Regions from separate parts of the Homo sapiens genome. Here all the other regions are linked to region 1. The links are contacts of gene promoters, found by promoter capture Hi-C in blood cells and fetal thymus (Javierre and others, 2016). All regions are on one chromosome and are shown on one strand. The core of a region is centred on a gene start or on the middle of the fragment in contact, and the rest is flanking DNA. Distances in the headings are between cores, read along the strand shown. Region 1 holds the start of EIF2B4 (eukaryotic translation initiation factor 2B subunit delta). Region 2 overlaps MAPRE3 (microtubule associated protein RP/EB family member 3). Region 3 overlaps TMEM214 (transmembrane protein 214). Region 4 overlaps AGBL5 (AGBL carboxypeptidase 5). Region 5 has its middle 3.1 kb from the start of EMILIN1. Region 6 overlaps SUPT7L (SPT7 like, STAGA complex subunit gamma). Region 7 overlaps KHK (ketohexokinase).

What was found. The method cuts DNA at HindIII sites, captures the fragments that hold promoters and counts their contacts. A CHiCAGO score of 5 or more calls a contact.
Region 2: a fragment that was not itself captured here is called in contact with the fragment with the promoter of EIF2B4 in region 1 in 1 of 17 cell types (total B cells); the score reaches 6.3 in total B cells.
Region 3: a contact is called between a fragment that was not itself captured here and the fragment with the promoter of EIF2B4 in region 1, in 6 of 17 cell types (naive B cells, total B cells, total CD4 T cells and 3 more). The highest score is 8.5, in naive B cells.
Region 4: a fragment that was not itself captured here is called in contact with the fragment with the promoter of EIF2B4 in region 1 in 4 of 17 cell types (naive B cells, total B cells, naive CD4 T cells and 1 more); the score reaches 7.9 in naive B cells.
Region 5: a fragment that was not itself captured here is called in contact with the fragment with the promoter of EIF2B4 in region 1 in 12 of 17 cell types (total B cells, non-activated CD4 T cells, total CD8 T cells and 9 more); the score reaches 11.1 in total B cells.
Region 6: a contact is called between a fragment that was not itself captured here and the fragment with the promoter of EIF2B4 in region 1, in 4 of 17 cell types (endothelial precursors, erythroblasts, megakaryocytes and 1 more). The highest score is 12.7, in endothelial precursors.
Region 7: a fragment that was not itself captured here is called in contact with the fragment with the promoter of EIF2B4 in region 1 in 8 of 17 cell types (megakaryocytes, naive CD4 T cells, endothelial precursors and 5 more); the score reaches 8.0 in megakaryocytes.

Annotation. Positions count from the first base shown.
Region 1 is chr2:27,368,605-27,372,164 of GRCh38, reverse strand. It overlaps EIF2B4 (eukaryotic translation initiation factor 2B subunit delta), which reads left to right and starts at 1,827. Exons shown (of 13, transcript NM_001034116.2): 1 at 1,827-1,881; 2 at 2,246-2,289; 3 at 2,616-2,751; 4 at 2,953-3,159; 5 at 3,432-3,511. The coding sequence starts at 1,851. SNX17 (sorting nexin 17) reads right to left here and starts at 1,549. Exons shown (of 15, transcript NM_014748.4): 1 at 1,359-1,549; 2 at 822-896. The coding sequence starts at 1,421. RefSeq lists enhancers at 1,167-1,256, 1,477-1,536, 658-1,619, 1,557-1,646, 1,867-2,146 and 1 more. The HindIII fragment of the contact is 1,836 bases long and covers 649-2,484 here.
Region 2 is chr2:26,972,556-26,976,115 of GRCh38, reverse strand. The region is part of intron 1 of MAPRE3 (microtubule associated protein RP/EB family member 3); the gene reads right to left. Among named protein-coding and RNA genes, the nearest start is that of MAPRE3, 3.7 kb to the right of the region's middle. The HindIII fragment of the contact is 5,007 bases long and covers 1-3,560 here.
Region 3 is chr2:27,034,302-27,037,861 of GRCh38, reverse strand. It overlaps TMEM214 (transmembrane protein 214), which reads right to left. Exons shown (of 17, transcript NM_017727.5): 3 at 2,577-2,727; 4 at 2,134-2,268; 5 at 1,810-1,892; 6 at 1,270-1,375; 7 at 1,076-1,157; 8 at 684-785; 9 at 160-301. Among named protein-coding and RNA genes, the nearest start is that of TMEM214, 3.1 kb to the right of the region's middle. The HindIII fragment of the contact is 4,998 bases long and covers 1-3,560 here.
Region 4 is chr2:27,055,904-27,059,463 of GRCh38, reverse strand. It overlaps AGBL5 (AGBL carboxypeptidase 5), which reads right to left. Exons shown (of 15, transcript NM_021831.6): 7 at 3,326-3,560; 8 at 2,672-2,841; 9 at 2,026-2,161; 10 at 862-1,064; 11 at 60-274. Among named protein-coding and RNA genes, the nearest start is that of AGBL5, 6.0 kb to the right of the region's middle. The HindIII fragment of the contact is 2,679 bases long and covers 359-3,037 here.
Region 5 is chr2:27,073,698-27,077,257 of GRCh38, reverse strand. No RefSeq gene overlaps it. Among named protein-coding and RNA genes, the nearest start is that of EMILIN1, 3.1 kb to the left of the region's middle. The HindIII fragment of the contact is 3,346 bases long and covers 1-3,251 here.
Region 6 is chr2:27,655,306-27,658,865 of GRCh38, reverse strand. SUPT7L (SPT7 like, STAGA complex subunit gamma) reads left to right here. Exons shown (of 6, transcript NM_014860.3): 4 at 1,197-1,521; 5 at 3,264-3,501. Among named protein-coding and RNA genes, the nearest start is that of SUPT7L, 6.5 kb to the left of the region's middle. The HindIII fragment of the contact is 2,985 bases long and covers 501-3,485 here.
Region 7 is chr2:27,091,991-27,095,550 of GRCh38, reverse strand. KHK (ketohexokinase) reads right to left here. Exons shown (of 8, transcript NM_006488.3): 2 at 3,103-3,219; 3 at 617-751. Among named protein-coding and RNA genes, the nearest start is that of KHK, 7.0 kb to the right of the region's middle. RefSeq lists enhancers at 1,771-2,356, 2,357-2,942. The HindIII fragment of the contact is 2,143 bases long and covers 754-2,896 here.

The DNA.
Region 1 (3,560 bases), core at 578-3,077:
ATGCCTGTAATCTCAGCATTTTGGGAGGCAAGGTGGGTGGATCACCTGAGGTCAGGAGTTTGAGACCAGCCTGGCCAACATAGTGAAACCCCTCTCTACTAAAAATACAAAAATTAGCTGGGTGTGGAGGCAGCCGCCTGTAATCCCAGCTACTCAGGAGGCTGAGGAAGGAGAATCGCTTGAACCCAGGAGGCAGAGGTTGCAGTGAGCCGAGATCGTGCCACTGCACTCCAGCCTGGGCAACAAGAGAGAAACTCCGTCCCAAAAAAAGATATCAGGTAACTTGTTCAGGGTTGCACAACTAATTATCAGTGGAGCTCTACTGAGTTAAATAGAGTTTAAGATCTGGTAAGGAAGGAGGAGAAACATTGCATCACAGATACATAACGATAATTGGCACAGCTAAACACACTGAAATGAGCCGAAGAACACAAAAGGAAATCGGTGAATCGTTTGTATAAGCAGGGAAAAGAATTTCAAGTTGCCGCTCAGATGACAGAAGGAATGTGCTTTGACAGCCTGGGTGGAGGTAGTGGGGGGAGGGGTTGGTTTGTCCATGCAGGGGTAAAGGCTACTAGAGCAGTAAGACTGGACAGAAAACCAGAATATAAGAACAGGAAGGAGCAGTTGTTGCGCGGACATTAAGCTTCTTAGGGAGTTCCCGGAAATGTCAGACAAGATAAACCAGGGCCCTACCCTGTGGCAGTGATTAAAGGGGAACTACAGCCTACGGGAACAAGAAGAGCGGGTAAAGGGAGACACTGATGTCCACGTGTAGGGAAGGGCTTGAAGCTGTCTCAAGGCAGGGGTGCTAGTCCCACCTGCTCGTGCAGCCCCAGGAGCTGGCTGTAGCGCACCCGACAGTGCAGGACTCCATTCACGTGAATGTTATAGGCCTGAGGACACAAAAGTAGTCAAGCATTTTAGGGTTGCGGTCTGCGCAACCCCCCTGAGAACCCTGGCCGGAAGTTGCCTGGCAACTCGCCGGAGTAACGCGCTAATCTCCCGAGGGATAGTTCGCTTGTTTTCGCCAGGGCCAAGTCCCAAAGCTGAAGAGCCAGTCCGGGGGAAATTCGGACGCTTGTGTTGCAGTCTCACTGCCCAAGAGGCCAGTGACGCCCACCAGGGCAGCTGCGGCCTAGCTCGGGGAAGCGACCCGGCCTAAGGGCCTACAGGAGCTCGGGCGACCACTGCACGAATCACACACATGAGATAAGCTCCCAGAGAGGCCGTCGGGAGTCGGCGGCCCAGGACCAGGCCCGAAGGGTGGCGGTCAGGCCTCAGAGGCCGCTCCGAGATGGCTCGGGCCCGTTATCCCCGCCCCTGCCCGGCCCGGCTCGGCTCCGGCCGCTCCTCACCACGTAGGCGGAGCCGCCGCTGTCCCCGCTGCGGGACTCGGTTTCGGGAATGGAAAAGTGCATGTTCCCTACGGCACGGCACGGCCGGGCTCCGGACTGTGAGGGCCGCAGCGGCTCTGCACGCTCCCCCTCCGCTGCTCAGCGAGTCCCCGCAGCCTCACTCGCCATTTTGGGAGCCCTGCGATCCGATGTGGGAAGGCGGTGGGACGTCGGTTCTGGGACGCAATCGCCTGGGCATGCTGGGAACTGTAGTCTAAAGGGCAAGAGCCACCTGTCCGGATAGGGAGCCCAAAGTGGAGTTGGCCCTCATTGCAACCCGTAGTGCGGGGCGGGGCCTCGGGGCCCGTCGGAAATTGTAGTCCGATTGGGGCTGCGCGCTTCGCTTCTGCGGCTCAGCCTCCAGCCCAGGTGGCGCTGTGGACCCTGCAGCCGCGGAGCGAGGCAGCGGGGCGGCTCCGTGACCACGGCGGGCGGAGCCTAGGACTGAGGGCGATGGCTGCTGTGGCCGTGGCTGTTCGCGAGGGTGAGTGAAGAGCCGGGCCTGCCTACTGGTACGCGGAGCCGACGAGCTCCGGACAGCTAGTGCCGGGCCTTGAGCGCCTTTGGGCCCCGCCGCTCCGTTCCAGCGCCACGCTGGGCTCCGGTCTACACAGTCTCGAGCGCAGTCCCGCGCCGCGCACCGGCTGGTTGCTGTGAGGAGGGTCGGTGACCCCTCCATTCCTTTGATCCGCCGCGCAGTGCGTCCCCACGCGGATCCCTGGCTCGCCTCGCGCCTGCCGGCGGATCCGTGGTCATGCCAACCCAGCAGCCGGCTGCGCCGAGTACTCGTGCCCCCAAACCCTCCCGGAGTCTCTCTGGCTCACTTTGTGCCCTGTTTTCTGATGCAGACTCGGGATCCGGGATGAAGGCGGAGCTTCCCCCTGGGCCTGGGGTAAGTGAGGCTTCCCTCCCAAGCCGCCTGCCAAGCGCTACGCAGGAGGCTGTGCCAGCTTTATTCCGCCCCAGCTCCCATCCCGTGTCGGTTTATTTCTCAGTAAAGCCAGGAGATTTTACAGAGGTCTTGCAACCCTAGGGATATATGATTCTGTCCCTGGAGGAGAAACGTCAGCCTCTGTGGATGTAAGCTTGCAACAGGTAGCTTGTGGAAGTTAGGAAGAACTAGGGATTTAACCATGTGGAAATCTTGTAAGCATCCAATAGTATTTGTTCCCCTTTGGAATTGTTGGGGAAGAGCAGTATCCTATGTCTGTGTCTCAGGCAGTGGGGAGGGAAATGACCAAAGAAGAAAAGCTGCAGCTTCGGAAGGAAAAGAAACAGCAGAAGAAGAAACGGAAGGAAGAAAAGGGGGCAGAACCAGAGACTGGCTCTGCTGTATCTGCAGCCCAATGTCAAGGTGAGTGAGGGGTCTCTTTTAAAGGGCTGGGGTGTGGAGCTGGTAGAGGGATGTGGTGGGAGAGATAAGGGAGAGACAGGACAAAGTTGATTTGAGCAAGTGTGTAAAGCAAAGAGGTTTACAAGGAGAGAAGCTAGTTTTAGCTGGGGCACGGATATCACCTGCCTGCAGCTTGGGCATTTTTTTTTTTAATGCTTTTAGTAGGCCCAACCAGAGAACTGCCAGAATCGGGCATTCAGTTGGGCACTCCTCGGGAGAAAGTTCCAGCTGGTCGGAGTAAGGCCGAACTTCGGGCTGAGCGTCGAGCCAAGCAGGAGGCCGAGCGGGCCCTGAAACAGGCAAGAAAAGGGGAACAAGGAGGACCACCTCCTAAGGCCAGCCCCAGCACAGCTGGAGAAACCCCCTCAGGTATCTTCCCTTCATTTTAAGACCTCCCTTACTCCTAATTATAACGCCAGCTCAGGCTGCCCAATAGTAAAACAGCTCTCCCCTCTCATTCTTGGGACCCAGAGTTCTGAATTGTTCCTGCAACCCCATTATCCTATCCCTATTTCCTTTTCTACCCTATTCTCCCGTTTTCTCCACCTCATCCTGTTTTTCTTGATGCCCCTTATACCCTAAGAGCAAATTACACATTTCAAGACCTACAGTGTCCTGAAAACATGATGATTATCTTTCAGGAGTGAAGCGTCTCCCTGAGTACCCTCAGGTTGATGACCTACTTCTGAGAAGGCTTGTTAAAAAACCAGAGCGTCAACAGGTAGGAAGTGGGTTTGGTGCCTGGCTAGAAAGAGCCTAGGGAAATGGAC
Region 2 (3,560 bases), core at 538-3,037, 400 kb after region 1:
TAAACTTCAAGCCCTCTTGACATTAACTAAGAGGCAGGAATTTTTCATGAAGGTCATATAGTCAGATGCCATTTTCATCAATAGCTGAAAATTAGCTTATTAGAATAATTATGATTATTTTAGCTGGTCAACAGATGGAGGGGACTATTCTCAAGAGGGGAGTGAAAAGACTAGGAAGAGTTGATGGGGTAGGTGGTCAGTTAAGTACCCTGGGCTGACCGGGAAGCAGCCACTTTGGAGGGTCCTGCCCTCACTTAAGAGCTTGATTTGGTGCAAACTGCCTGGGCCTGCTTGAAGCTGTCAAACCCTATTTGCCCCAGGCATGGGAGGCTCCAAGTAAAGGCAGCTGCTTCTTTTGTACCAAAATGTATTTACTGAACAACAATCACTACCCATTCTATTTGGTCTTCATTAAATGACTAAAGCATACATGCTTCTTATAACAAGTCAAATACAAAAACATATAAAGTAAAAGTTCCCCTTTGAGTCTCCTTTTCCCTTCCCCACACCCAAATCCCACCTCCCAGAGGTAAACATTATTGCGTTTCTTTTCAATCTTTAGATGTCTATACATGGGTATTTCCTTCCCTACTGAAATTTATCTAGGAATTTAAATTCACTTTTGCTCTTGCACCTGAACAGCTTGCCCTGGTTCTTTAATTACTCAGTAGTTTCTGCCTTGAGCCAGTCTGTAATTCTCTCCATCCAAAATGACCTCCCTTTACCTCTGCTCACTGGCAAGGTTTCCCTCTTAAGATGAATAGCTCCTTTCCCTTGCCCCCTGGATCTCACGGATGCAGAAGCTGATTTTAGCAAAGTCACCGATGAAATCTATGCCTCTACCAGTTGAGGAAGTCAATAAAGACCACATGTGTGTCCCTCACAAGCAAGAGCTCAGCAGCTTTTCTATTTCAAATGAAGACCACTCCCCAGACTGGCCTCCCTGCTGGAGAACTAGCCACCCCCACCACACACCCAAGCACACCACATCTGTGCCTCCTAAAGTCAAATGCTCCTGTCCTGCCAGTCTTTCAGGTTGGCTGAATACATGGAGCAAAGATACATTTCATATACTCCGGTTTTGGCAGTTGAAATAATAATGCAAGTGCCGGGTCTTCCCGGTACAAACCTTTTCTCTGTTCGTGTCAAATACCGAGAGGGGTGCTGAGAGATGGGGGCTACAAAACTGAGAGTCCAAGATGGACCTAAATCACGAAACAATTTTGAAACCATTATTTGCTATTTTATGCTTTAGTCAATATAAAATAATCATTGCTATTTCTTATGAAGCAAGCACTCTACATACTCCCTTTCATTTAATCTTCACAACAACCCTGTAAAACAGATAGTTATTATTCCAGGGTTATAAATGAGGAAACTGGCATTCAGAGGTAACATAACTCACCCAAGGCCACACAGCCAGGAGATGGCTGGATGGGGATCTGAACTCAAGTCTGCCTGCTTCCAGAGGTCAGGCTGCCTCCGCGCTTCCCAAGGAGAGGGTTTAGAAGTCCTTATGGCTCCCAGAAACTACAAAAGGTTCCATTCTGAGAGGTGGAAGATAAGCCCGCAGCTGCCCAATGTGCACGCTCCTCCTCTCAGCCCCATCTGCCTCTCCACCTTGCTTTCTGGAATGCGGCAGTCTCACAGATAAGAAGTAGAAAAGACTTCAAATACCCAACTTCACATTTGCTTTTCTGTTAGTTGATGCAAATTAAAAAAAGAAAGACCTTCCTGAAGTCAGAATGTGTGATAAAAAATATTATTTTTAAAGTGGCAAGAATAAATATTTAGTTAGACAGTTTGACACAAAATTTTGCCTGGCTGTGCAGCATCTCAGATGACAAAACAAGCCCTTGCCTACAGGGCTAATTACGGACTACTAAATTATTTTTATTAAAACCCTTTGGAACATTATGAGGGATGAGGCAATGTGGTGTTGAAGAATAACTCTAGTCTGGAAATCTGGAGATCTAATCCTGACTCAGCCACTAATAACCACCAACATTCATCTGCCTAGTGTACACAGTTTACAAAGTGTTTTTACATACGTTCTGCATGGGTTGGGTGACCTTAGGTAAGTCATTTAACTCTTGGTGTCTTGTGTCAACTTTAGAAATGAGGGCATTAAACTATACCATCTGGGGTCACCTCCAGTGCTAACATCCTAAGCGAGGGAGACATGTGCCTTGGGACCTTTACAAATGTATCTGTAAGCAAATCAGGGCAGATGCATTCTGTTTTAAAAAACTATATTTTCTGGCCAGGCGCGGTGGCTCACGCCTGTAGTCCCAGCACTTTGGGAGGCCGAGGCGGGTGGATCATGAGGTCAGGAGATGGAGACCATCCTGGCTAACAAGGTGAAACCCCGTCTCTACTAAAAATACAAAAAATTAGCCGGGCGCGGTGGCGGGCGCCTGTAGTCCCAGCTACTCGGGAGGCTGAGGCAGGAGAATGGCGTGAACCCCGGGAAGCGGAGCTTGCAGTGAGCCGAGATTGCGCCACTGCAGTCCGCAGTCCGGCCTGGGCGACAGAGCGAGACTCCGTCTCAAAAAAAAAAAAAAAAAAACTATATTTTCTGTTCGGCTTCTGACAAATGTTACTCGGCTAAATTCAGGAATAGCTCATAAGACGTTTGCTGCCAGTTAGTTGGCTCAGTTTCTGGAGAGTACCACATTAAGACCCTGGGTTGGATTCTCATATGGGAACTTTCCTCCGTTCAATAGCCTCCTACTATGCCTAACTCCAGCCAGTCATCTTACAAATACAACCCCACAATGTGTGCTGGCGTGCAGGAAGGACTAGAAGAAACTCAGCTTCACAATGCATGCACTCTCAGGACGGTAGGTCAGAAACGGCATCATCACACAGGAATACTATCAATAGCATTCTTTCTCAGTTCCAAGATTCACAAATCCCTCCCTCAAGTCTTGCCATTTCCCGAGGGTTTTAATGTTTCTAAAATGAGGATGCACCTTGGAATCAGCATATATATTTTGATCTGGTAGCATTAGATTATTTTACCTAAAAGCTATTGGTAAATTGCTGGTGTGTCTTAGAATCAAGAATACAGTCCTACAAAACCTCAATACCATTACATAGATTTAGGTCTAACTTGGTTCAAATCATGTCCCTCTCCTTGATCTTAACAATTACATTCAGCAACAGCTGGATAGGCAATGTATAAGACAAGTATTAGTCCTGTTTCCTCATAGTAGCAGTTTAAAAGGCATTCCATCATTATCTCATAAAACACTGGTATGGATTTCAAAGGCAAATTAATCCATATAAAAACTACTCTGATCCTCTGAAAATGTACTATCCCATAGCAAACTGGAAAGGAACATTTTACTTACACCCTCCTGATCTATCTAGCCTTGACACATTTTCTTCCTCCTTAATTCACAACCCTCCACCCCAGTAATATCGCTGATTCCCAAAATACACTCAGCCCAGGAGGAGCAGCTCTCCAGTACAGCTGTCTGCTCCTGCCCTGCTCGGGTATTTTGGTGAGCTATGTGACACAGGACCACACAGAAGGAATGCCACTCTCAGGCCCC
Region 3 (3,560 bases), core at 373-2,872, 330 kb after region 1:
TGAGGGTGAAGCTCGAGTGAGCGGGGCAGGCAGCTGTCAACAGGGAGCTAAGGAAAAGCCTCAGAATGGGCTCTGTGAAGGCAAGGCCTTTGTCAGCAGATAGGGACCGCTACAGCTGACCCCTGGGGAAGGAGAAAAAGCCTCCCACCATATCCTCACCTCTTTCTTCATCTCAGGGGGACAGCTAGGGGTGGCTCTGGACAGGAAAGAAGGGAAGTAGGTATGCAGGGTGGAATCCGGCTTTGCTCCAAATGCCAGCACTTTCAGTCGGGGGTAGAGCTGACACAGCTGCTCCTGCAGGCTGGGTGGGGTGGGGAGGAAAGACAGGCATAAGCTATAAGTGGAGCTGTATGATATGAACCTTTTGCTTGCTTCAGAGCCCATGCCTGCCTGTGGGGAATAGCCACTGAGGACCTTGCAATGGCTCTGAATCTTTTTACTCAGAGACTCCTTGGAAATCTGTTGAAAGCCATGGACCCTATCCCTAAGAAAATGCCCATATGCCAATCACACTCAAGGGTCCATATAATTTCAAGGGGTCACTGTTCCCTTGAAACCTACTCTTGAACTTCCAGGTTGCAAATCTCAGATCTAGGATGGCTGGGGAAGGAGAGACGGGAATATGTAGTGTGGTTCTGGTGCTGTGGTCCCTTCTCAGCAGGTGTGCCCCAGAGCAGTCCTACCTGGGTGTCAGGGAGTTGTTCGGCATATAGGCAAAGTCCAGAAGTGGGAAGAAGTCCTTGGGGCCAATCATGCCGAAGCCCTTGGTAAGGTTGGGATGCATCCTGTGGGGATGAAGAAACAGGCTCGCTGGACACCACCACCCATGCCAGCTGTTTTGGCCATGACCCCAGCTAAGCCAACATCTAGGAAAAAGGGTATAAACTCTACCCCATCTGCCAGCCCTTAATAGCTCCCTCTTCTTCCTTCCTCACCATCACATTCTAAGGTGGTGGGAGAAGCTGGTCCTGATTTTCCTCATATCCATGGAGACCAAGATCATAGCCTCCCATTTTGCTATAACAGCCACTTGGGACACCCTGAGCCTTCCCCTTGCTGCCCTCCCATTACTCACAGGAGCAGCCGATCCAGGTATGTGATGGCAAAGGGAGACAGAGACTTGATGCCCAGCACAGGCAGCATGATCCCCAGCCACACTGCAGGGGTAAAAGTCACGAGGGAGGCCTCAGGCTTGCACCTACTGGGGGCATCAAAGAGGAGTTTTCCAGCTCCGAGACCCTCCCTCTTTCTTCCCTATTTCCCTGTTACCTTTCAGTCCCTCGGTGAGGTTGGCAAAACCTGCTTGACCCAGGGCCCACATGATGGTGAGACACTTTGCTGGTCGGCTCTGGTGGGACCTCAGCAGTTCCAGGAACTGAGGAGACCGGTGGGGAAGGCAGATTGGGATAGGACAAAACACCAGGAGCACCCCCCAAAGCCAGGAGGGAAGGGAGATGTCAACTGGAAGAGGGAGGACAGGCCGAGCAAGAGTGGAGCACTATGGCCACGTGGTGCAGGTTCTGTTTGTGGGCTTCGCCCATACTCTGCCATTTACTGGATGACTGAGCCTAGGAAAGTTACTGAACTCCTCTGTGGCTCAATCTTTTCATCTATAAAAATGGGAAATAATAGCAGTACCTTGCTCCTATGTTTCCAGAGCACACACACAGGATAGGTGCTAATAGTGTTACCCATTATTACTAGGCTTACAGGTCTTCCACTATCCCAAACCTGAGTCCAACAACATAGATTCTGCCCAGCCTCCCCAGTCCTAGCTTCCTAGCATCCCCACCATCACTGAGAGCTCACCTTGCCTAGGTTTGCCGTGGCAATCTTGGGCTTGTCTTGCAGGATGGCCTGGATACAGATGCGGTAACCATGTAGTGACTCCCCTGGAGAGATACACATTCTCACACCTACTCACATTATTTGGCATCCCAAACCTGAAATCTCCCATTTGTCAGCGGTGAGCCCAGGCCCCAGGTCCACTGACTCCTAACTTCCTCCACACTTTCCAAAAAGTGTTAAGGTTAGCACATTTCTCTGCTGGAAACAGAACCACTGAGTGGTACTGGAAGCAGGAAAAAAAGGAGGAGGCTCCCAAGATGGTCATCCCTCCCGTGCCCCTTTCACCTGGTGTCTTATCCAGCTCTTGCAACATGGTGAACAGACAGTGGTCAAAAAAGAGCTCCAGAGACCCTGCTGCCTTCGCCAGCAGCCCTCGGATGATCCCACGTAGCTCCCGGCTCACCAGGCTGTAGGGATAATCTAAGGCCCATAGGCCTCAATGTGAGTGCTAGGACCAGACACCCATCAGCTCTGAGAACTGTGGTGCTCTCCCTGGGAATGGTGAGTGGAGGCAAAGGCCCCTGCACTGAGGCTGGGATCCTTCCTCTGAGGAGGCCCAGAGGGAGGATCACAGAATGAGGCCCAGAAACATTCACAGTCACGATGATTTGAGACCAGCCCAAATCACCCATGGAAATCAGGACAGTGTGGGGCACTGGGATCTGTTATACCACCCTTTTTGAATTTATTTGAACTTGTCTGAGCTTGAGGAAGCTGGAAGGACTTACCATGAGTATGCTGGCTCAGCGTGGGTTCACTTAGAGGAGCTTGTAGCTTGTAGTTGAGATAGCTGGCCAGGTCCTTCAACCATATGGATGGGTTTCCAGAGAACACACTCTGGCTCTTGTCCAGTTCCTTCTGCAGGTCTGCCACATCCAGCTGCCAGGGACAATCCCCCAACCCCCCACCATGGCGAGTTGTGAGTGAGGGAGTAAAGAAATGGGGTAGGGGTGGGAAAATGGTTGAACTAGGTGGCAGTAGGAAGAAGGGATTCCATTTTTAAGCATAAGAACATGGAATGCTGCAATTCTGCTGTACCTACATCTTTAAGAATGGAACAGGACAGCTGAAAATGCTGATCTCAGGCCCTATCCTCTCAGGCCCTCCACATGTTCAAGAGGAAAACAGAGGGCCAGGCGCGGTGGCTCACGCCTGTAATCCCAGCACTTTGGGAGGCCAAGGTGGGCGGATCACCTGAGGTCAGGAGTTCAAGACCAGCCTGGCCAACGTAGTGAAACCCCATCTCTACTAAAAATACAAAAATTAGCCAGGCGTGGTGGCAGACGCCTGTAATCCCAGCTGCTTGGGAGGCTGAGGCAGGAGACAGAGGTTGCAGTGAGCTGAGATCACACCACTGCACACCAGCCTGGGCGACAGAGGGAGACTCTAACTCAAAAAAAAAAAAAAAAAAAGAGGAAAACAGAGGACAAGACAGAAAATGAAAGATCAGTATTTCCATAGGACAGAGAATCATAACCAGTTTCTCCATCTCCTCCCTGGTGTTCCTGGGTCTTCAAGGCTTTCCTCTTACCAATCCATGTTTCCCTATAAATTTTCCATTTCCTTTCTATTCTAAGTGCAGGCATTCTGTTCCCCTGGGGTTTCCATCTTTTCCTGAACTCCTCTCAACCCTTAAAGTGTTTCAAATCCCATAGGATCTCAGCTGCCCATCCACCTCCCCCTCCTCTCATCTTCTCTAAATCTCAAGCCCC
Region 4 (3,560 bases), core at 449-2,948, 310 kb after region 1:
CCCCCAGCAATGCCCCAGACAACCGAACACATGTTGCAGGGGCTCCCAGACTGGCTTACCTCTGACGGGGCCCAGCACCCGGTGGGTGACCTTTTGGGTACTAGAGCCCAGGCCTGGCAGCCCTGCAGGCCGACTGCCATGAAAAGGAAAGCTGGGGGAATTCTTCATCTGTGGAGAATTTTGTTGGCTGCTGCTGCTACCACCGGCACTTGTGCCGGTGCTAAAACTTCGTGCCCGACTCAAGGTGTTTTCGGAGCAGGAGACAGGCAACCCACTGCAAAGAAGCAGATGCCAGTTAACCCGGGCCAGGAAGGTTGTGTCCTAAGGCTTTCCCTAGGATCTGCTGCTCAGTAAAGCTTCACCTCTGGGGTAAAAAGGCACAGGGACCCATCCCAAGGAAGAAGTGAGGAATTCATGTCCGTGGATGAAGTATCTAACCTGGGGAATACCAGCTAATCTCAAAATGTCTTAAGGGCCATCCCTGAGCAGCTTTATCTCCCAATGAATTTCACCCCTACTGCCTTGGCACTGACCCTTGAACTCCCTTCAGTCAGTCATTCACAACCCTTGGAAGCTGAGGCCTGCCCCACTGCAATTATATTTGATTTTGTACAGGGCTCTGCAGCAGTGAATCCCAAGCCTGATACTCAGATCTCTTAGGTGTATGTAGCTCAGAATAAAAGGGAAGAGGATCCCATTCTAAAAGAATAAACTAATCTGACTAATTTTAATTTACCCTGAAGATATTTGCCATTTGGCACTTTGAGGAGGATGGAAGGAATATAAATCCCTTGGAACTCCTAGCTCTAGAGCCCTGTCCCACTGTCCTACCCTTTCTCCCTCCTATTTTGCTGGCCTTACTTGTGACTTTTGGGTGGAGTTCGAAGGCCCCTCTTCTTGTTGACACCCACATTCAGAGTGCTGCTTAGGCCTCGGCTGTTGCGTACATGTTTCAGCATCCAGGCCCGTAGATTAGTAAGGCTGCTGTGCTCTGACAGTACAATTCGGGGCCACGGATTACATTCCGCCATGTCCAGGGCTGCAATGGCCATAGCTCGTCCCACCTGTGGGGTAGTCCAGTTTGGCTCAGCATGCTGGTCCTCCCATCCAGGCTGCTACCTTGGGGTGGGTACACAGCACAGTGGAAGGGAAGGAGGGGCCAGACCTATAATTTGCTCATTGGATGCCCTAACCTTTGTGCCCAGGCTGTTTATTGCAAACGGATTTGGAGCTGTTCCCTAAACTACCGCCAATTTGGGGGCCCTCTTCCATTATGAGGGGCAAAGTGTGTCCTTTCTTTCTGGCTGGTGCCATGAAGGAATTCTCCTAGCAGGAAAGGGGTTTGAATCCCTTCTGTAACCTACAGATCTACTTTTTTTTTTTTTTGAGACGGCATCTTGATCTATTGCCCAGGCTGTAGTACAGTGGCGTGTGATCTCGGCTGACTGCAACCTCTGCCTCCCGGGTTCAAGTGATTCTCCTGCCTCAGCCTCCTGAGCAGCTGGGACTATAGGCATGTGCCACTATGCCCAGTTAATTTTTGTATTTTTAGTAGAGATGGGGTTTCACCATATTGGCCAGGCTGGTCTTGAACTCCTGACCTCAGGTGATCCGCCTGCCTTGGCCTCCCAAAGTGCTGGGATTATAGGCATGAGCCACCGCACCTGGCCAGCTCTTTCTATTAGGATAATGGGAATCATCAAGACCACTACAGTCAGGGTGCTTTTGAGCCCAGAAACTAATAAATCCAATAGAATGAGAAAGACAAGCCCAGAGGCAAAGAATCTGACTCAGAGGTGCTAGGGGATTCTCTGTGATGTGGGGTCAGATATAGTGCCTGTTCATCCTTTCAATACTATTACAGTTGTAGTTATGCTCCTGTTAACTGAGGAAAATAATCATAGTGGTGAGACGGCCATAGTGATGAATATCTCTTCAAAGGACCTTAGAGTCAGGCACTAAGAGTGAAGGCCTTTCCAGACTGTAAGGTTTCTCCCTTTTCCCACTTACACCATGTATTCATACCTGCTCAAATAGTTCCACAGTGTATCTGGAGGGGAAAGCCGGCGGGGGAGGGGGGCTGGCACGCCCATTGTCATGGCAGGCAGCAGGGATGCTGTTTACTGAGCGTCCAGTGTTGTAGTTGCATTCAAGTGTGTAGCTAAGACATAAAGACCTTTATCAGTGTCCCGCCTGAACAGATACCAGGACAGAACCATAGAGGACAACTTAGGTGGTCAAAGGAGGCAATCACTTGGAAAAAAGTGAACACAAATGAAAGTGCTAATAATCCATAGCAACTAGCAGCTGACCTTGGTACTGTACCATATACCCAGAGAGTCCCCCCAAGGTAGAGTCCTAGACTAAAGACAATAATGCTAATTGTGAGGTTCTCTTTTAAGAAGACTAAGGTGGTTCCCTCCCTCTCAAACACCCTGAACTGGGTGTTGTTTTTTGTTTTTTTTTTGAGACGGAGTTTCGCTCTTGTTGCCCAGGCTGGAGTGCAATGGCACGATCTCGGCTCGCCACAACCTCTGCCTCCCAGGTTCAAGCGATTCTCCTGCCTCAGCCTCCTCAGTAGCTGGGATTACAAGCATGCACCACCACACCCAGCTACGGTGTTTTCTTTAGGGAAGCTATTTCATCAACTATATCTCAGCTTCCACCCAACCTGTGGATTATCCCTGAGGCTTTGTAGATTGCAACACGGCCGCTTCCCTCTTTAGACTGGCCATCTCTACGGTCTCGGGCATACATATTCTTCTCTGAGAAATTGCAGCCCTGGAAGTCGAAGTGGGCTGAATTCAAGGAGATGAGCTTTGGATATAGCATGTTTTCCACCTGTTTGGGGAAGAAAAGTCAACTCAGAAGGAGAGACAGAAGGGACAAGGTGCAAGGAAGAGATAGCAAGTATGTGACCATGTGACTTAATACACAGCAGATACCATCACAACCATTAACAGTAATCAGTGCTGCCTGAATTCTCAGTTTGACATTACTTCTAGGTGTTGGGAAGCAATTCTTTTTTTTTTAAGCTTTTAGCTTCCTCCCTCCAACAATGCAAAATTTTCCTTCTCTGGATTCCCAGACTCTAGCAGACTATAATGCAGTTAGCTTTCCTTAATAAAAGGTCATGATGTAACAATTGAGACATTATCCCCCTGTGCCATCTCTTCTTGGCCCTTCAAAGCTTTTTCAGAGGTAGTCTACACAGGCCTTCCTTCCAGAAAGCTACCTAAGGCTATCTTCCTTCTGTTCATGGCCTAACCCCATCTCCTAACCTGTAACACTTCTCACACTCACATGACATTCTTAGGATTCCCACCTGGGTGCTCTCATCACTAAAGCTGTTTCCGTACATGAAGCAGCCCCTTTTGGAAGCATGTCCATGCAGGTCCACATAGTAAGCAACGCCACTCTCTTTGGGGGGGATGGTATCAGGGGCTGACTCTTCAAGCCCCGCAGACTGTTGTGGCATAATCCACACACTGTTGAGCTTCTGTTCTGCTGGCTCTGTTTGTTTCCAGGCTTCAGCGTTATGCCTGTCAGCTGAGTGCCCA
Region 5 (3,560 bases), core at 329-2,828, 290 kb after region 1:
GACAGGAGAATGCTGTGTGCCAGGCACTGCGGAGGTGCCCAGGTAGCAAAGGCATAGGTAAGACCCAGACGCTGTCCACTAAGGAGCAACTGAGGTTGTTGGAGAATGGGACACAAGCCCCCAAACAGAGAACCGTCACAAGCCAGGACAGAAAAAGTGCCAAGGGGCAGGACAGAGGGATGATGTGTGTTCCAGCTAGGAGGAGGGAAAAGACAGCTGGCTGCTGGAGACAGTCAGAGGAGAGGCTGGAAAAGACAAAAGCTGAACAGCATTGGGGTGGGGGCGGGGGTGGGGGGCAGGAGTCAAGAACAGAGACAAGGCAAGGAGAGAGATTTCAGGCTCAGGAAGAGCGGTCTGCCTCAGTCTCCTCAGCTGTAACACAGGAATAACAGGACTCTCCATCCCACTTTGTGAGGATTAAGTAAGTCAGTGCATGTAAAGCATTCTAGAACAGTGTCTGGCAAATGGTAAATGCTCAATCAATGTTAGCTCTTTTTTTTGTGTCAGGAAAAAATGGGACCGAAATTCAGAGAGGTAGATTGTGGACAAATTAGGGAGAGGCTCAAATGACTGGTTATGAGGTTGTATTGCAAGTTTTTGAGTAGAAGCATATACACATACACGAAAGAAGGTATTGTGGGTGAGAGCGCTGAATACGGTGTCAGAACACAGGCAATGTAGCCCCAGCTCCTCCTGTCACTATGACCCAGCAAATCCCATGACACCACTGGGAGTCTATGTGTCATCTAAAGTCCCTTCCAAATTCTACATTGCAAAGTGATGCAGACTTGGGCTCTGGTGGTGACAGTGACCATGGATAGGCAGGGAACTTTGTGACTGCCTGAGTAATGAGGCTTGGTGACTGCCTGAGTAATGAGGGACCAGATGAAGGGAGACACGAGGGAAGATTCCAGCATTTGAGCCAGGATGGGGAAGTCGGGAAGAGAGCAGGTTTGGAGGAAAGAAAAGTGATCGTAGTTTGAAGATACTGAATTTAAGATGAGAGTAACACATCCTAGTGGAAACCAGTGTCTAGGATTGTTAGCAATGGTGGGCCACTGATTCTTCCAACATGTGCAGGGCAATAGGTGGAAGCCATGAGAATGAATGCCATCAAATCATCAATGTAACTCTGAACCATCTTGCCTCTGATGTCCTATGACCCAGAATGTGACCTTGATGGCTAAGAGAAATGTTTGTGAAAAGACAGGGTCAGGCGGGGTGTGGTGCCTCACGCCTGTAATCCTAGCACTTTGGGTGGCTGAGGTGGGAAGAGCACTTGAGGTCAGGAGTTTGAGACCAGCCCGGCCAAATGGTGAAACCCCATCTCTACTAAAAATACAAAAATTAGGCCAGGCACGATGGCTCATGCCTGTAATCCCAGCACTTTGGGAGGCCGTGGTGGGTGGATCCCATAAGGTCAAGAGTTCGAGACCATCCTGGCCAACATGGCGAAAGCCTGTCTCTACTAAAAATACAAGAATTAGCCAGTGTGGTGGTGTGTGCCTGTAATCCCAGCTACTCAGGAGGCTGAGGCACGAAAATCACTTGAGCCCAGGAGGCGGAGGCTGCAGTGAGCCAAGATCACGCCACTGCACTCTAGCCTGTGCAACAGAGTGAGACTGATTCAGAAAAAAAAAAGGGGGGTGGTGGTTGGTGAAAGTAAATGCTGGAACAAACAGAAATGGAAATTTGTAGTTGCCCCTTAGAGCCCTGGGGATCAGCACACAGGGAGATTTGAAGGAAATGTTCACAGGAGATCCCGATTTCAAAGAAGTTTTCGGTGGAAGGTTGCAGCTTTGTCCCTGGTCTCTAGGCTCTGGCTCTGGCCCTGGCAGGAAGCCAACCCACTTCCCCTCCAGATTGCCCCAGCTGCTGCTATGGGTTTTCTCTCTCTGCTCTTCTCCCTCTCTTCACCCTTAGGAAGCCTCTGGCAACCTGAAAAGTCACCCCAGCCATCTTGTCACTGCCCAATTGTTACCCATTCCCTCTCCTACCCTCTGAAATTCAAAAATCTATTGTATAATTTAAGTGTATCCAGTGAAAAATGTTGGCTTTGAAATATAGTTGCAGTAGGTTGCATTTCATTTGCCTTTATGTAATTAGGAGACGAGACCTAGGAGCTGTCATGAATGTTTGTGAAATCACAAACATATCAGTGGCTCTGAGTTCACCAGGGAGGATGCTTCCCCTTGCTGGCTTGAGTGGGCAAGCAGGGTGCAATGGAGCCTAAAGTTAGAGTGCAGTGGTAGTGGTGATGGTGGCAGTGACATGCTGGTGGTGGTACTGGCAGGCAGCCATAAATTTCCAAAGCAATTGGTAAGAGTTCCTGACCCCCCAGAAAGCTAAGTTGCTGGTGGCACTAGGACATGATCTATTTTACAACCTCTCCAAGGTGGGTAATTTCCAAGCATCTAGTGCCAATTGGCCCTACATGGCAATGAACTCATTCATTCAGCTTCACTGACTGAGCAAGAGTTCATGACCAGGGTCAGGACAGCCGTGGGCACCAGCAATAAGGAGCATTTTATGTCTAGCCTCTCTGTCAGAGGACTGAATATTGGGAGGGAAAAAGGGGGAATAATATGATTTGGGGCCTGGCACAGTGGCTCACGCCTGTAATCCCAGCACTTTTGGAGGCCGAGGCAGGCGGATCACTTGAGGTCAGGAGTTGGAGACCAGCCTGGCCAGCATGGTGAAATCCTGTTTCTACTAAAAATACAAAAATTACCCGGGTGTGGTGGCACACTCCTGTAATCCCAGCTACCCAGGAGGCTGAGGCAGGAGAATCACTTGAACCTGAGAGGCAGAGGTTACAATGAGCTGAGATCGCATCACTGCACTCCAGACTGGGTGATAGAGTGAGACTCATCTCAAAAAAAAAAAAAAAAAAGTGATTTGGGCCTTGGGTCATGCCAATCCACATGGGACTTCAAGTTTGTGGGGAGTCTTGAGCAAAAGCCCACTTTTCTCCAAAGAGATGCACTTTACTTTTCCTTTCAGCTCTTCCTCCAGGTTTAATACTTTAGTAGCCGACCTCCCTGAACCCAGTTCCCCTTCTCCCAGGTCTTGTTGCTTTCTCACTCCTGAGCCTAATCCTGGCCTCATGTCCTTTCCTTGAAAATGTCACACTAATCACAGAGATTGAGCTCCACAAGTGCCCCCCAGTCATTTCCCTCCACATCCTCCCAAATCCCCCCAGGATGAGGCTGTGCCTGTCTCACTTCCCACGTAGTTTTTTTATCCAAGCTTGGTTCGAGATTTGTCAGTTCTTAGTTAAGTCTAGTTCAGTCTCATAGACTGTTTTTTGTTTCAGTTCTTCCAGGCACTGGGCCAAATGACCCATCCAAAGCTGATAAAGACCCACTGACCTAGGCACAGGAAGTTCTGTGAGGTGAATGAATTTCTGGGTGGTCCTAAAATAAATCCTTTCCTTCTTGTGCCTAACCCTAGGACAACCTACTGAGTCCACAGTTTGACCTGGAACATGGAGTGGAGGTAGGAGGAAGAGGTGACACTGCTCTTTCACCAGTTTCTAGAAACTTGGTGAAATTTTACCT
Region 6 (3,560 bases), core at 744-3,243, 290 kb before region 1:
ATATTATTCTAGGAAAGTGATATTGGTTTAGTTGTCTCTGTTTATTAGGTACTTATGAGGCCTTTAGCTTTTGGCCCAGAGACACTGGCCATGGAAATGATGAAGATAGTAAATGAAAAGTTACTTGGCAATTAGTTATCTTATTGTCAAACTATTATGTAAACTGCAATAGTTGCTATTGAACAGGTCAGAGTTTAGTGGGTGGATAACCACTCAGGCACTTTTGTACAGTGCGTGATGACACATGCCAAGTACGAACCAAGGAAAAATGATTTTCTGTGCTCTATTTTATTTTTATTGGTAAAATAAATTCCTTTGTCAGGGGTAGGCAGAAGCCAGTAGGAAATTTCAAGAGACAGGTAAATTATTAAAAGCTTCTTAAGTTATTTTTAGATCAAATAGCTTTCTTAATTTTTTTCTTGGAAAATTAAGATTTCTGCAGTAGTGATTAGGGGCAAAATGGTGTATTATGCAGGATACGGTTTCTGGAGTCAGAAGCTTTACCACTTACTAATTATATGTAAACAAATTTTGGCAAGTCAGCCCTTCTAAACCTGTTTCCTCTCCTGGCAAATAGAAATAATAATAATACAGACCCTACCCATTGCACAACACAGGATAGGATGAAAATGCTTTGTAAGCTATATATGTTTTAAATTGCTTTTATAAAATTGAGTTGACTTCCCTGTTTTGAAATGGTCCCTTGTAACTTTATAAGAATCTAAGAATCTTAAACTCCTGGGAACTGTGAAGAATCTCTTTATTGGAACTGTGAATTTCTAAAAGTTTGTATTAATATATTGCCCAGCATGTATGAAAACTAGGTTATGGTAAAATAATTAGAGCATCATTGAGCAGTGTCTGGGCTATACTGTTAAACTTAATCCTAAAAGTGATCAAAATTGAACAGTTGCTAGAAGGAAACTTTCTTTTCACTAGATATCCTTTTGGATTGTGTATTATAGACATGTATTGCCTATTCAAACTATGTCTTTGGAGGAGCTCAAAGATATGACCATGGGTTGCTAAGACATGCCCAGATAGCAGCAGGATGAAACTGAGCTATGTAACTTGGATGGAATTTCCCTGGAAAGCTAGGCCAGTGGCTTGACTGGAATTGTAAAACTCCTGGGGAAGACAGGAGGGGTCACCCCTTTGCAAGAACATTAATAACACCACCGTATCTCCACTTTCAGTGGGAAAGGGGAACCTGTGACTGAACTCAGCTGGCACTCCTGTCGGCAGCTCCTCTACCAGGCAGTGGCCACAATCCTGGCCCACGCGGGCTTTGACTGTGCTAATGAGAGTGTCCTGGAGACCCTAACTGATGTGGCACATGAGTATTGCCTTAAGTTTACCAAGTTGCTGCGTTTTGCTGTGGACCGGGAGGCCCGGCTGGGACAGACTCCTTTTCCTGATGTGATGGAGCAGGTATTCCATGAAGTGGGTATTGGCAGTGTGCTCTCCCTCCAGAAGTTCTGGCAGCACCGCATCAAGGACTATCACAGTTACATGCTACAGGTGAGGCGACCCTGTTGAAAAGTGGGCACAGATGTCTGTGCAATCTCGGAGTGTTCAGCAGGATCCCACAACACTTGGTCTAGAGTGCAGAGCACAGAGTCTTGGAACAGAGTGAACTTAACATACTTTTATGATGGCCCTAGCGATGTTCCTGGCCAAATACCATGGGTCTCCTTTAGTCAGTGAATGGCCACATTCACTGATACTTCCTCTGGAAGAAACTATCCACAAGTATATGGAATCTGAGAGAATGCAGTTAGTCTGATTTTATTCAACAAGTATTTATTGAGTGCCTGTTGAGAGTCGAGCATTGTGGGATTCAGCAGTTACTAAGTTACCTGAGTTTACATTGTTTTTGAAGGGAGACAAACACAAGTCAATAAATAACAATCAAAACAATTTCAGGAGCTGGGCATGATGGCACATGCCTGTAATCCCAGCTACTTGGGAAGCTGAGGTGGGAGGATTGCTTGAGGCCAGGAGTTCAAGACCAGCCTGGACAATATAGTGAGACCCCATCTCTACAGAAAATTAAAAAATAAAAATTAGCTGGACATGGTAGCTCATGCCTGTGGTCTCAGCTACTTGGGAGTGTGAGGTGGGAAGGTCACTTGAGACCAGGAAGTTAAGGCTGCTGTGAGCCATGATTGTGCCATTGCACTCCAACCTGGGTGACAGAGCAAGACCCTGTCTGAAAAAAAAAAAAAGAGAACACAGACCTACTGACAATCCTCCTGCCTCAGCCTCTCAAGCAGCTAATATAATGGTTTGACTGGAATTGTAATATATATATCTAATATAGCTGCTTGGGAGGCTGAGGTGGGAGGATTGTTTGAGGCCAGAAGTTTAAGACCAGCCTGGGCAACATAGCAAGACCCTGTCTCTAAGCACATACACAAAAAAATACAATTTTGGATAATGTTAAGTGCTATGAAAAAAACAGAGTAAAATGATATTGCCTGGAGGATGGGTTGGTGGGGGGTGATGATTTTGCTTGGAACCAGAAATATCTAATCTCTTCAGCCCTTGTGCTCTTAAGTCATTTGTTCACTGTTTCAGTTTCTGCAGGTCTAAAATATGATTAGGAATTTTTAACACCCAAGAAAAAAGTCTTTGCTAAGTGATCCAGATTTCCCACACCATTGATTATTCACCTAGGATACATATGTCAACTTTTTTTTCCCTTTTTTTAGACAGGGTTGCCTGGGCTGGAGTGCAGTGGCACAATCACAGCTCACTACAAGCGATCCTTCCACCTCAGCCTTCCAAGTAGCTGAGACCACAGATGTGAACCACCATGCCCAGCTTTTTTTTTTTTTTGGTAGAGATGGGGTCTCACTAGATACTGCCCAAGCTGGTCTCAGACTCCGAGGCTCAAGTTGTCCTCCCACCTTGGCCTCCCAAAGTACTGGGATGACAGGTGTGAATGACCGTGCCCAGCCTACTGTTAATTTTTATAGCCAAAAAAATGTAATCTTTTGTCCCAGTTCTAACACATTTTTTTACCTTTATGTAACTTTTAATTAATGACATACACATTCTCTGCCAAACCAATTTTCTTTACATATCTCTATCACTCATAAATGCAAACTCAGCACCTTAAACAAATCCCTCCCATTGGCAGTGAATGTTTTAAAATTCTGTTATTCATGTTCTGTTGGCTTTTCCATGGGACGTCACAAGCTGACTATCCAACTTGCTTTTAACATTTCCTTGGAAAATTGACTCTTGCTTGCCAACAGATTAGTAAGCAACTCTCTGAAGAATATGAAAGGATTGTCAATCCTGAGAAGGCCACAGAGGACGCTAAACCTGTGAAGATCAAGGAGGAACCTGTGAGCGACATCACTTTTCCTGTCAGTGAGGAGCTGGAGGCTGACCTTGCTTCTGGAGACCAGTCACTGCCTATGGGAGTGCTTGGGGCTCAGAGCGAACGCTTCCCATCTAACCTGGAGGTTGAAGCTTCACCACAGGCTTCAAGTAAGACAAATAAACTTACTCACTTTGATTCTGGGAGATCTGCCAATTTCAGTACTTTT
Region 7 (3,560 bases), core at 576-3,075, 280 kb after region 1:
GCCCCTTCCCCCAGGTCAGCACCATGTTAGATGACCCTGATCTGCTGACCCCATGTTTCCTTTCCCCTCCTTCAGCAATGGCTGTGAATGGTGTGTGGCCTGGCTTCATCATGCTGGAAACTTTGGGGGGCTGATCTCTTTTACACACCCAAACCCCAGCTCCTTGGTGCCATGCTGCAGGCTGGCAACTCTGGGGCTGACTTTGGAAATCCCAGTGGGCACCCCCCCACAGCCCTTCTTAAGAAGGGTTGAATCCCATCTCCCACCCTTCTGTCCTGAGAACAGTTTCCCCGCACCCACAGCCAAGCTGCTGATTAACGATTTAATAATTATGGAGGAATCACTTAATAAATTACAGTTTATATAGGCCTGCCTGCCCTTCTTTGGTGTTGACCAAGGCCAAGTCACCAGGCACAGCAAAGCCCATCCCTTCCCACCTCACTTTTCCCCTAATTGAAAGCAATTAGGAAATCACTGGACATTTTGGCAGGGGAGCAACTTCTGGTACACAGAAGCCACAGAGGGGGGCAGTTGGGATGCCCATGGTGGCGAGTGAGGGAACTGATTGAGCCAACTGATTGGTGGGTTGTAGCAGGGCGAGGCCCGGGGGCCTTACGTGTCATGGAGCACAATGGTACGGTTGCCATTGGAGTTGTTGATGATGCAGCAGGAGCTGGGGGTGTCCCCCTTGCTCTGCCAGGCCACCTGAGACACGTCCACGCCCCGCCGCCTGAAGTCGGCCACCAGGAAGCTTAGGGTGGAGGCCGGGCCAGGAAAAGGGCAAGGAGACACAGATTAGAGCCTGGAAGTGGTCTGGACCTCCAAAAGGAGTGGGGAGAGGGTGCTGGAGCACACGAGCCTCTAAGAGAAGAAGAGTCCTGTTCTGGGAGTTTTGGTGGCGGCGGCAGCAGCTGGCAAGGCACAGACAGTTGTACAAACCTGTCATAGTATAGGATGGTGCGGCTACCACTGGCCTCGTTGATGATGACCGTGGCGATGGGGACGGAGCCTGTGGTCTGAAAGACTGTGTAGCGTAGGTCCACAGAATAGCGGCGGAGGTCATCCAGGACAAAACTGCTAGGGCGGAGTAACCCGAAGGGGGTGCAGTTCGACAAGGGTTTTGGGGACTGGAGGGTAGCTGGCAGGGCCACTAGGGACCCTGAAAGGCAGGGGTGCAAGCAAAGGGGGCTGGGAGAGAACTGGGAATCACAGTCTTGCCACAGGCAGTGCAACAGGGCAGGAGATGCAGGAGTGCAGAGCCTGGAGCTCAGAGAGAGAAACACTAAGGGCCATCCTTTTAGGTCTTGGCTGAAGCATGCTCCGATCCTGACTCTGTTTTTCAGTCCAACTCATGCTGGAAAGGATTTGCTCCTGTTCATAAAGCTAGACAGGACCCTAGAACCTGTACACTGTTTGAACCAAGCATGTGGGGGCACCGTGGCTTGTTTCCTGCAATGCCCAAACAGGATTAATAATTAATCTCCAAGGCAATACTTTGCCCCCAGCTGTCCTCCACAAGCTCATCCAGGGTGCTGTCCTCTCTCAGTCCCTCCCAGTCCTAATGCTGTGATTCCTCTCACTCTCTGCCTGCCTCCAGGAGGCCCAGCCTGGAAGTGGTGCTGCCTTGGTGAGCCAGCTCACTGCTTTGTCCTCCTGCAGCCAGGTGAACCCTCCTGGGCAATCAGCTGGCTCCCCGTGCCTGATGCCACTCAGTATGGGCCTGGTCCAGAACTCTCTCCTGGAATGCCCTCCATGCAGAGTGAGCCCAGGGGCAAGGACAAGGAGGTCAGCCCCAGCCCTTCCAGCCCTCTATGGACAGGCATTGTTCTGTGCTCAAGAACTGGCAATTATGCCCAGCAGTCCAGCCACCATCCTGGCTTTTCTCACCTGGCCAGAGCCCGCTTTCAGCAACACCAAAGCTGGATAATACAGATTTGCATAAAGATACCAAGTCAGGGCATCATCCCTTGACTTACAACTCCTTTAAATAGTAACTTTCCCAAAGCATTGGAAATATGGTTTGGTTTGCCAAATAACTTTCGCACCCCAGTGCCTGGGACATGGTAGGTGCTCTCTAAATGTTTGTCGAGCACATGGGGAGAATTCTGAATAAACCACCCATTGGCCTGATTGCTATGTAAAGGAGAGTCGACCATCCTAAGCCAGAGCCACAGTCCTGCCTCTAGCTCAGAGGAAAGGAGCTATTAAAGAGGTTTAATGAGTCACCAGCCCTTGGTTCTGAGCCGTCCTGTCCCATCTCACAGGGCAGATTCTCTCCCTCTATTCTCTTCCTGCCAGTTCATCAAGGCAGGGAGTTTGGCTGTAGCTCAGGTGGTTGGACTCTGCCAGCAGCCCCCTTCAAACCAGGGTTCAAAGGGCTGCCCTTCACAGGCCAGCAACCTGGCAGCCTGCCCCCGTGCCCACAGTGTGCAAAGTGTGGGCCTCACCTCCCGATAAGTGCTTGCTGAGTCGGCAGCGCCAGGGGTCAAAGGGCTCTGAGGTCCCTGCAGCAGCCAACATGGAGGGCGTGCATGAGCCATTTAGGGCTATAGCCCTGACAGCCGGGGAACTGGGAGGTGTGGGTTCTGAGCCCAGCTTTAGCATGTGGCTTCAGGGTGTCCTTGAACAGGGTACTCTCACTGCTTCAGTGAACAACAGGGACATGAGCACCAGCCCTGCCTCTCAACTGGGACAGAAACTGTGGGCCTGGACCTGGGGGAGGATGGGTACCACGTGTCCCTAACTGCCTTCTGCCTCAAGCATGGCCAGGATAAGGGACTTAAGATAAGGCAAAGGCACATCCACCGCAGAGTCTGCAGGAAGCAAGGAAGGAGAAAGGAAGAGGCTGAAGCAGGCTCCAGAAGTGTCCAGGAAACAAGCTGTGGCAAGGAAAGCTTCACAGGGGCAGCATCAGCCCCCGAACCGCAGAGAGGCCACGCCAAGGCAGGGCTGGGCGTCTGGTGCTCCGCCATGCCCCCTCCCCGCGTTTCTGCTGGACACAACCCATTTCTAATCCCCCATCCACCCAGGGTGGATACATCCTTCTTCTCCCACAATGATGCAGGCAGGCCTTCCCCAGTGGGCTCTCCCTCCTGGACTTACTCAGCAACATGGCCAGGAGCCATTGAGCCCATGAAGGCACAGGGGGCTCCGAGCAGGGAGAGAACGGTGCAGGAGTTGGACGCGTTGCCTCCGCGCTGCCATCTCTGGGACAAACACCTGCAAAGCACAGGGAGGGTCCCTGCAGCCCCAGCAGGCTGATCCCAAGCACAGTCTCCTGTATAGGGGCCTACAGAATGTAACAGCTGGGGACTCCTCTCAGAAAGCATCTAGGCCGACGTCTCACTTTGTACCCGGGGCAGCCGAGGCCGGCCAAGGGAAGGAGCTTGGCTGAGAGCGGTGTCTACCTCCCCAGCCCAGGCTAAATTCAAGCTGACAGCAGTTCCTTTCAATATTTCCATCTGTTCCTAGGGCAACAGGAAACCACTCACTTGGGTCCATCACTATTCGAGAGACCCACTAACTCCAGGTCATCTCCTCCTCACCTTTCACCCCAGTCA